Regions from separate parts of the Homo sapiens genome. Here region 2 is linked to region 1. Evidence: promoter capture Hi-C in human tissues and cell types (Jung and others, 2019). All regions are on one chromosome and are shown on one strand. Each heading gives the region's core, a stretch centred on a gene start or on the middle of the fragment in contact. The rest is flanking DNA. Distances are from core to core; before and after follow the strand shown.

What was found. The method cuts DNA at HindIII sites, captures the fragments that hold promoters and counts their contacts. A contact is called where the count stands out against the background at its distance.
Region 2: a fragment that was not itself captured here is called in contact with the fragment with the promoter of EPHB2 in region 1 in 3 of the 25 tissues and cell types used here (IMR-90 fibroblasts, dorsolateral prefrontal cortex and mesenchymal stem cells).

Annotation. Positions count from the first base shown.
Region 1 is chr1:22,708,541-22,713,367 of GRCh38, forward strand. EPHB2 (EPH receptor B2) reads left to right here and starts at 2,299. Exons shown (of 16, transcript NM_017449.5): 1 at 2,299-2,503. The coding sequence starts at 2,443. RefSeq lists a silencer at 986-1,271 and an enhancer at 3,493-3,592. The HindIII fragment of the contact is 4,397 bases long and covers 57-4,453 here.
Region 2 is chr1:22,943,693-22,948,210 of GRCh38, forward strand. No RefSeq gene overlaps it. Among named protein-coding and RNA genes, the nearest start is that of LACTBL1, 27 kb to the right of the region's middle. The HindIII fragment of the contact is 5,786 bases long and covers 1-4,431 here.

The sequences.
Region 1 (4,827 bases), core at 1,049-3,548:
GTAATTTTCTATTTTTGCCAGGTAAAGGCCCTGGATAGATGTCTATTTCATCAGATAACGTTGGGTGAGTCACTTTCCTTTTTAGGCCTCAGTTTCCTTATCTGTGAAATAGCCTGTGGGAAGAGCCCTGAGCTCTGTGCTTCTGTGAAAGGTACAAGGAGGTCAGCACTGGGGTCGGACGGACATGGGGTTGAATCCTAGCCCAATTTGCCATGTGACTTTGGACAAATTACTTATCTGGTCCTCAGTTTCATCATGTGAAAAGATCAGCACCTGGTGCACAGAGTAGGAAAGATTAAGGGGGACAAGAAATAAACAAAGCCCAGCCTAGTGCCTGGTACCATGTCCTCAATAAAGCAGAGTCACTGGTCTTCCTATTTTGAGACAAAAAGGAAGTAACCACTGGCCCTGGGTAGGTGGAGTCAAGGGTCCCAGGAAATAGAAACAAAGCAAAAAAGCTGAATCTGCACAGTACATAATAGGTGCTCAATAATGACTTCTTGAATTTGGAAGTGTCTAGCACCTGGATGCACTGGAGGGGGCCAGAGCTTAGAGCTGCTCTGTCCAGGAGAGGGAGGATTGCCTCAAGATGGGCCAAGCTTGGGGTCCCTCAAACCCTGGGTCTCCTGGAAGGTCTGACAGGCAAGAACTGAAAATAAAGGCTAGCCCCACCCCAGTGGATCTTGACCCTGGTGAGGGGTCTGTAGACTTAAAAGGGGGAATCTTCGTTTCTCCTCTCTCCCTGCTCACTCAAATAGGAACGGTAGTGGCTCTGCCAGCCCCACCCCACTGGCTCTTGACCCTGGTGAGGGGTCTGTAGGCTTAATAGGGGGAAATCTCCTGTTTCTCTTCTCTCCCTGCTCACTCCTGTTCTGTCTCCCTCCCAGGCTGCCTCCTCCTGGTGGCCTTCCAGGATGACACCCATTTCAACTGGACTCTTGGAGCTTCAAGAGACGACCCAACTTTCCAAACCTTAGATGGATTCCCAAAGCCTGTGGTACCCCATTTTCTTGGTATGGACTGAAGGGGAGGGATTGCTGGGACATTTTGATAGTATGTGGGACAAAGGGACACAGGAGATGTGGGTAGCATAGACTTAAACTGCCTTCGACTTAAACCACCTGCTCCTGCACTGGGCTCCTCCACTCACTCCACAGAGTTCCGAGCTCCTGATGAAGTCTCCTCAGTCAGGAGTGGGCTCCCAACTGCCAGGGGTTCAGCCTGGGTGATTGCCGCAGGCCCCCTGCAGCCGCCCACCATCCAGACTTCAGTAAAGTCTGTTAATGATGATGGTGATGAAGGCTGTCAGAGCAGGGCAGGGCCCACAGGGTTGGGGCTAGGGTTGTGTTCTCCCTGAAGGGACGGCCATGCACAAAACCACGGCTGCACAGACAGGTCCATTCCACAGCGTGGGGGTGGCTGGGGCTTTCCCCAGATTCACCCATGGACTTCCTTCACCCCATCCCCAAACTGCACTGGGAGCAAGATCAACAGAGAAGGAGAAATCTAATACAGACATAGACGAGTCTGCAGTGAGGGGCTCGCGGGCCAGCTCAGAACAACGGGGCAGGGAGGGGAGGCCTGGGGTCTGCCTGCAAGGGCCCAGCCCACCAGTGCCGAGTGACCACCCTCCCCCCAGCCCCACCCCAGGCCCTCGGGTAGCGCCAAGGCCCAGTCTCCCACTCGGAGGCCCCGGCCCAGCCCCGGTGCCTGGGAAAGCCGCCTGTTTTGTTCCCAGATGCCACCCCCCCACACACACCCTTTTTTTTTTTTTTCCATTCATTGCAGTTCGGTCCCTTTCGAAGCCGCAGGGACCCGGGTGGCAGGGCTGAGGCGAGGGGGTGGGACTCCCTGCCCTGACAGGTAGTGCCGGCCCCCGCTTTGGGAAGCCCCTTCCCCCGCCCTCCCCTCCGTCCGCTCTCCCTGCCCCTGTCAGCCGCGCCAGACGCTCTCCGGCTTTGCAGCATTCAATAAAAATTGAGAAACATTTGGGCTGAAATCGCTGCTTTATCTGGAGGAGCCACAGCGCCGGGAGAGACCACTGCTGCGCGGGGGGAGCCCGGGGTCTCAGTGGCCCGGGCACGCGGGGTCGCCGCGCTCCAGCGCCCGCGCTGCCCCCGGGTGACCCTACGGGCGCGGTGTGGGGACCCGGGCTCGCGGCGGCGCGCGGCCGCCGGGGGCCGGGACGCGCGCGGGGGGCGGTGGCCTGGCGAGGCTCCCCCCGCGCCCGCGGCTCAGGTGGGCCGTGCCCAGCGCTGGCGGAGCCCGGGTCCCCGTTCTGCCCGGGCTGGATGGCTCATTCTGCTGGCTGCGCGGTGGCGGCGGCTGTGTGTGCGCCGCGCCTTGCCGCCCCCCCTGGCCCCCCGAGCCCGGGGCGCGCGCTCCCGCCCGGGCCGTCCGGGCCCCGCGGCGCCGCGGCCCGAGGCCCCGGGAAGCGCAGCCATGGCTCTGCGGAGGCTGGGGGCCGCGCTGCTGCTGCTGCCGCTGCTCGCCGCCGTGGAAGGTGAGCGAGCGGGCGGGCGGGCGGGCGATGGGGGCGGGGAGCGGCCGGGCACGGGCGGCCGCCGGCGCCCACCTCCGCTCCGCGGCCCGCAAAGTTTGCCCGGGGGCCGGCGCCGGGCGCAGGTGGCCGCGGGGAGGTGTGTCCGGCCGCGCCGGGAGGAGCGGGCCCCGCGGGCGCCCGGGGAGCGGCGGGCGCTGATTGACTGTGCCAGGAGGAGGCGAAGGGACCATCTTGCCGAGGCTTTGTAGCCAGCCCGGCGAGCGCCGCCCAGGGCTGGGGGCTGCCCACGCGCGCTCGCCGCCCCCGGCTCGGGCAGCCGCCTCGCGCCGGCCTGGTCTTGCTCCGCACAGGGTGGAGGGGCGCGGGCCCGGCCGTGGCGGGGGGCGGGGGGGGCGCCGGCGCTCGGTCGGGGCTGGAAAGTTTGGCAGGGAGCAGAGGGAGGGAGGCACCGCGGCCGGCCGGGGTGGGGGCTCCCGGCCCGCGCCCCCGAGATGGGGCCCGGCGCCCCGGAGAGCAGGGACTGGCAGAGTGGAAGGGAGCGCGCCAGCCCCCGCGTCGGTGCCTGCCCATCGCCCGCGGCGTACAATGGGGTCCCCTCCCCGAGAGGACTGCGCGGGGGATGGGTCTGTGGGCATCTCTCCGCCGCGCAAGGTCTCCGGGCACCCCCGCCGGCCACCGCCCCGCGGCCGCGGCGCTCAGCGTGGCGGCTGGAGCCCCGGGAACTCTCCAGCTGCCGCCGGGGCCGGACCAGATGCTCTTGCCATGTGTTGGCCTTGGCCAGGGTCGCGGGCCCTCTCCCCGTGGCCTCGTGTATTGGTACCACTCGACCCCCAGGGGGGCAAGGGTAGTTGCTAGGTCTCCCGAGCCAGCTTGCTCTGGAGGGAAAGTTAGTGCGGTCTGGGTGTGTCCACCAGGAATGGCCGAGCTTGCAGGGCAAGAAGCGAACGTGAATAATGGTTCTCACGTGTACTGCACTTTACAGTTTTCAAACCACTTTACAGTTTATGAAGTACTTCGCACTATACGCAGCTCTCTGTGGTTTACAACGTGCTGCACAGTTGACAAGGTACTTTAAGCTTTACAAAGTGCTTTCCCGCCCACCAGCGTGTTGGATCCCTCAAAATACACCTTCCGGGGAAGACAGGTAGGTATGATTCCTACTTCTCTTGAACAGATAGGGAAACCGAGGTTCTGAAAAGTCCGATGTCTCACCCAGGGCCGTTGGGTGACAAAAATAGAACCCAGGTCTGTGGTCTTTCTTTGAAACCAGCACTCACTTAGCTGGGTTTTGTTGCCCCTAAACTGCGTGAGCCCTTCCAGGGTTCTGCTCCCTTGGGCTTAGGGATGATGTCTGTGTGCACCTCTCAGGCCACTTTAGGGTTGTGGGGCGCCCCTTCCCTTCTTGCAGCCTAAGAAAAAACGCATATCAGACCAGACGTGGGGGCTGCGGCCTCTGGGAAAGGCGTCGTGGGGGACCCTGTGCTACAACTTCAGTTTCTCTTTCGGTAATGAGCACTTTAGTGACCGCAGTCAGGGGGTGGGGGGTGTCCCTGGATGGCAGCCACAGTTTCTGGCACTGAGGCAGCTGTCCTTCGGCTCCTGGGGGATTTGGCGGCTGACTGCGGTTTCCCGGAGTGGGGCCACTGGGGCACCTAGGGTGCCACGGGCCCTGGGTGTGGAGGGCAGCCCTGGGGCCTGGCTGCTGGCGGGAGCTCTGTGGAATATGGCTGAGGTACCACTTATTAACTCTGGCTTTGGGGAAATGACTCATGCGTTGGCCCGCTATACATTGGGATGTTTACAGTATTATGGGGAGCTTGGCATAAATATTGCTATTTAGGTTGCAGTCAGCGGTGCTGGAGGGGAAGAAAATTGGCCCCTCTCTCGTTGGAAGAGGCCTGGGTGTGTTTTTAATTACTCTGGGGTAGATGGAAGGGCCACATCTGTCCAGCCATCGCCCTGGCAGAGGCTGGTTGGAATCTGGTGGGCTGTGGCCAGCCTGGACCCTGGCCCTGGACACAGGGCTGGTGGGCGCTGACGTCACAGGAGGGTATGGCTACTTGGACTGCCACTTGGGGGCAGGGTGGGGAAGGGAAGCCACAGCAGGGTGGGAGGAGGGCTGCAGCAGGCACCCCAATGCTTGCCTCAGGCTCTTGTTCCGTTTGCCCCCTGGACACTAGGAAGTTAGTCCATCAGTGGTTAATAAGGAGCTGGCCGAATGGATGGGGAGATGGTGTGAGGTGGAGGTCAGAGGGCCTGCTTCTCATTTACTATGGGACCCTGGGCCAGGTCCCTTCCCTGTGGGGGCCTCAGTTTCTCTGGGT
Region 2 (4,518 bases), core at 289-2,788, 230 kb after region 1:
AAAATACAAAAAATTAGCTGGGCATGGTGGTGCACGCCTGCAGTCCTAGCTACTCAGGAGGCTGTGGCAGGAGAATCTCTTGAACCCAGAAGGCAGAGGTTGCAGTGAGCCGAGATCGCACCACTGCACTCCAGCCTGGGTGACAGAACGAGACTCTGTCTCAAAAAAAAAAAAAAAGAAAAAGAAAAAGAAAAGAAAGAAAGAAAAGAAAACAAATATACAGATGTAGATCCGACAGTCCTAAGAATTCCATGTTAATTAATGTGAACTATTTTGTAATACGCAGATGATATCTTGATAGCCAGTGAAATGGAGGGTAACTCCATCCTCCATGCCATCAAAGTCTTAAATTTCCTGGCAGATAAAGGGTACAAGGTTTCTAAGAAAGAGGCATAGATCTCTCATCCCACCATTCAGTACCTGGGATTCAAGGGACTCACAATCTTCTCCCAGATCACAGAGGCAATAAATCAGGTGGCAGTCTCCAGTATCCTTAAACAACTACGTGGTCCTTTAGGGATGCCTGGATTTTGTCAAATTTAGATCCCTAACTTCAGGTTAATAGCCAAACCTCTCTAGGAGACTTTAAAAGAAGAAGAAAGGGAACCCCTTTCTTGGAGTAGAGAATGCCAAAATGCCTTTCTAACCATTAAAGAGAAATTGATGACAGCCCCTGCCCTGAGTCTCCCTGACCTACACCAACCTTTTGATTTATTTGTTCAAGAAAAACAGGGAATTGGACTTGGAGAATTAACTCAAGACCTTGGGACCTTAAAATGTCCCATGGCCTACTTTATAAAACAGCTTGACAAGGTAACTAAGGGCTGGCCTACCTGCCTAAGGGCAGTGGCTGCCACCTGTGATATATTGCAGGAAGCTGAGAAGTTCACCTTTCAGCAGCCCATGAAGGTACATACTATGCATTATGTGTTTCCCCTGCCCAAGCAGAAGGGGGCTATTGTGGACTGCCAGGGCTGGAAAAGCACCAAACCATGCTTCTAGATAAACCAAATATAACTCTTAAAGTTATTTCTACTCCTAATCCTGCCACCCGGCTACCAAGGAACCTCCAGCCTCCTGTTGAGGATTGCATTCAAATAATTGATCAAGTTTACTCCAGCAGACTGGGCCCCACAGATTTGCCATTAACAGAACCCAACCAAGAATTCTTCACCGAGGGAAGCAATTTCATGGAACAAGGAGTCGGGAGGGCCAGCTGGGTTGAGGTTTAACTCAGCAGAACTGAAAAACCTGCCGAAGTTGTAAAGGCTCTAATGAAGGAAATAATTCCTCCATATGGATTCCCACAAACTCTCCATAGTGACAATGAAGCCACTTTTTTTTTTTTTTAACAGAGTTTCACTCTGTCATCCAGGCTGCACTGCAGTGCTGCAATCACAGCTCACTACAACCTCAACCTCCCCGGCTCAGGGGACCCTTCCACCTCAACCTCCCTAGTTGCTGGAACTACAGTCACGCACCACCACACCTGGATAATTTTTGTATTTTTTGTAGAGACAGGGTCTTGCCATGTTGCCCAGACTGGTCTCAAACTCCTGAGCTCAAACAATCCACCCGCCTTGGCCACCAAAAGTGCTGGGATTACAGGTGTGAGCCACCACACCCAGCATGAAGCCACTTTTCTTGTTGTTGTTGTTTTGAGACGGAGTCTCACTCTGTCACCCAGGCTGGAGTGCAATGGCGCAGTCTTGGCTCACTGCAACTTCCACCTCCTGGGTTCAAGCGATTCTCCCACCTCAGCCTCCCAAGTAGCTGGGACTACAGGTGCGTGACACCACACCTGGCTAATTTTTGTATTTTTAGCAGAGACAGGGTTTTACTAGGTTGGCCAGGCTTGTCTCAAACTCCTGACCTCATGATCACCCGCCTCGGCCTCCCAAAGTGCTGGGATTACAGGCGTGAGCCACTGCGCCCGGCCATGAAGCCGCTTTTATAGCCCAAATAACCCAGGAAGTATGGCAGCTTCTGAGTGTCAATTAGAAACTGCATTTGTCTTGGAGACCCCAATCTTCTGGAAAGACTGAAAGAATACATAAGACATCGAGGAGTTGCTTTCTAAAGTTCGCCACGAGACAAATCTTACCTGGGAAAAGGTCTTGCCCCTTGCCCTGCCATGACCAGTGGGATTTTTTTCTAGGGATTCAAGGCTGGTTCGATATTTTTAAATCAACCAATGTAATCTACCAGATTAATAGGCTAAAGAAGAAAAATTACATGATTATGTCAATTTATACAGAAAAAAATTTACAAAATTCAAAATCCAGTTATGATTTTTAAAAAATACTCTCAGAAAACTAGGAATAAGAGAATAATTTCCTCAATTTGATTTTTTAAAACCTGCAAAAAGCTTACAGCTAAAGGCCGGGCACAGTGGCTCACGCCTGTAATCCCAGCACTTTGGGAGGCCGAGGCGAGCAGATCACGAGGTCAGGAGTTTGAGACCAGCCTGACCAACATGGTGAAACCCCGTCTCTACTAAAAATACAAAAATTAGCCGGGCGTGGTGGCACACACCTGTAATCCCAGCTACTCAGGAGCCTGCGGCTGGAGAATCACTTGAACACGGGAGGCAGAGGTTGCAGTGAGCTGAGATCGTGCCACTGCACTATAGCCTGGGTGACAGAGCAAGACTCCATCTCAAAAAACAAACAAACAAAAAACAAACCTACAGCTAACATTACACTTAGTGGAAAAAGACCGAATGTTTTCCTCTAACATCAGGAACAAGGCAAAGATGTCCACTCTCAGGGTCGGGCGTGGTGGCTCACGCCTATAATCCCAGCGCTCTGGGAGGCTGAGGCGGGCGGATCATGAGGTCAGGAGATCGAGACCATCCTGGCTAACAGGGTGAAACTCCGTCTCTACTAAAAATACAAAAAATTAGCCGGGCGTGGCGGCAGGCGCCTGTAGTCCCAGCTACTCGGGAGGCTGAGGCAGGAGAATGGCATGAGCCCGGGAGGCAGAGCTTGCAGTAAGCCGAGATCACGCCACTGCACTCCAGCCTGGGCGACAGAGCAAGACACCGTCTCAAAAAAAAAAAAAAAAAAAAAAGAAAAGATGTCCACTCTCACCATTCTTATTCAACATAATATTGGGAATTCCAGCCAATGAAATAAGGCAAGAAAAGTAAGTAAAAAGTATACAGACTAGCAAGAAAGAAATAAAACTATTCATATTTACAGATAACATGATTATCTACGTAGAAAATACCAAGGAATCTACCAAAAAACAAAACCAAAACCAAAAGACTCCTAGAATGAATAAGTGGGTACAGTAAGGTCACAGAATACAGGATTAACATACAAAAAACAATTATATTTCTGTATACTAGCAATAAACAAGTGACCAGTAAAATTAAAAATATAAGACCATTTATAAACACTCCAAAATAATGAAATGCTTAGGTTTAAATCTAACAAAACATATACTGAAATAATATGCTGAAAATTATAAACTTATAAAAGAAACCAAAGAAGATGTCAAAAGAGAGATATATTGTGTTCATGAATTAGAAGACTCAAAAGATGCGAGTCTTCTCAAATTGATATTCAGATTTAATAAAATTTCTATCAAAATCCCAGCATGCTATTTTGTAGTAGATGTAGACAAGATTTCTATAACATTTGTATGGAAAGCAAAGGACCTATAATAGCTAAAACAATTTTGAAAAAGAAGGATAAAGTGGGAGAAATCAGTCTACCCAGTTTATAACTTCAAGATTTATATACAGCTATAGTGATCAAGACTATGCTGTATTGGAAGGAACGCATTCAAACCACAGCACCTGGTTGAGGGATAGACACATAGTTCAGTAAAATAGGATAAAGAACCCAGGAATAGTCCCACACAAATATGCCCAACTGATTTTCTTTTTTATTTTTGAGACAGGGTCTTGCTCTGTTGCCCAGACTGGAGTTGCAGTGGTGTAATCATGGCTCACTGCAGTCTCCTCTTCCTGGGCTCAAGTGTTCCTCCCATCTCTCAGTCTCCCAAGTAGCTGGGACTACAGGCACGTGCCACTGTGCCCAGCTAATTTTTATGGTTTTTTTGTTTTTGTTTTTTGTTTTGGTTTTGGTTTTGGTTTTTGTAGAGACGGGGTTTTGCCATGTTGCTCAGGCTGGTCTTGAACTCCTGGGCTCAAGAGACCTGCTTGCCTTGACCTCCCAAAGTGCTGGGATTACAGGCGTGAGCCACCATGCCTGGCCCAACTGATTTTTGTCAAAGGTGCAAAAGCAATTCAACAGAGGTGCTGTGGTTTGAATGTGTTCCTTCCAAAATCCAGGTATTAACATTTTATGGCCAAAGTGGTTGTATTAATAGGTGGGGCCTTTAAGAGGTGATTAGTTCATGAGGGCTCCTCTGGTGAATGGGATTAAGGCCTGTATAAAAGAATCTTCTCTTCATGCAGCATTCAGCTTGCTTGCCCTTCTGCCTTCCACCATGTGAGGATACAGTGTTCCTCCCCTCCGGAGGATGCAGCAACATAGCACCATCTTG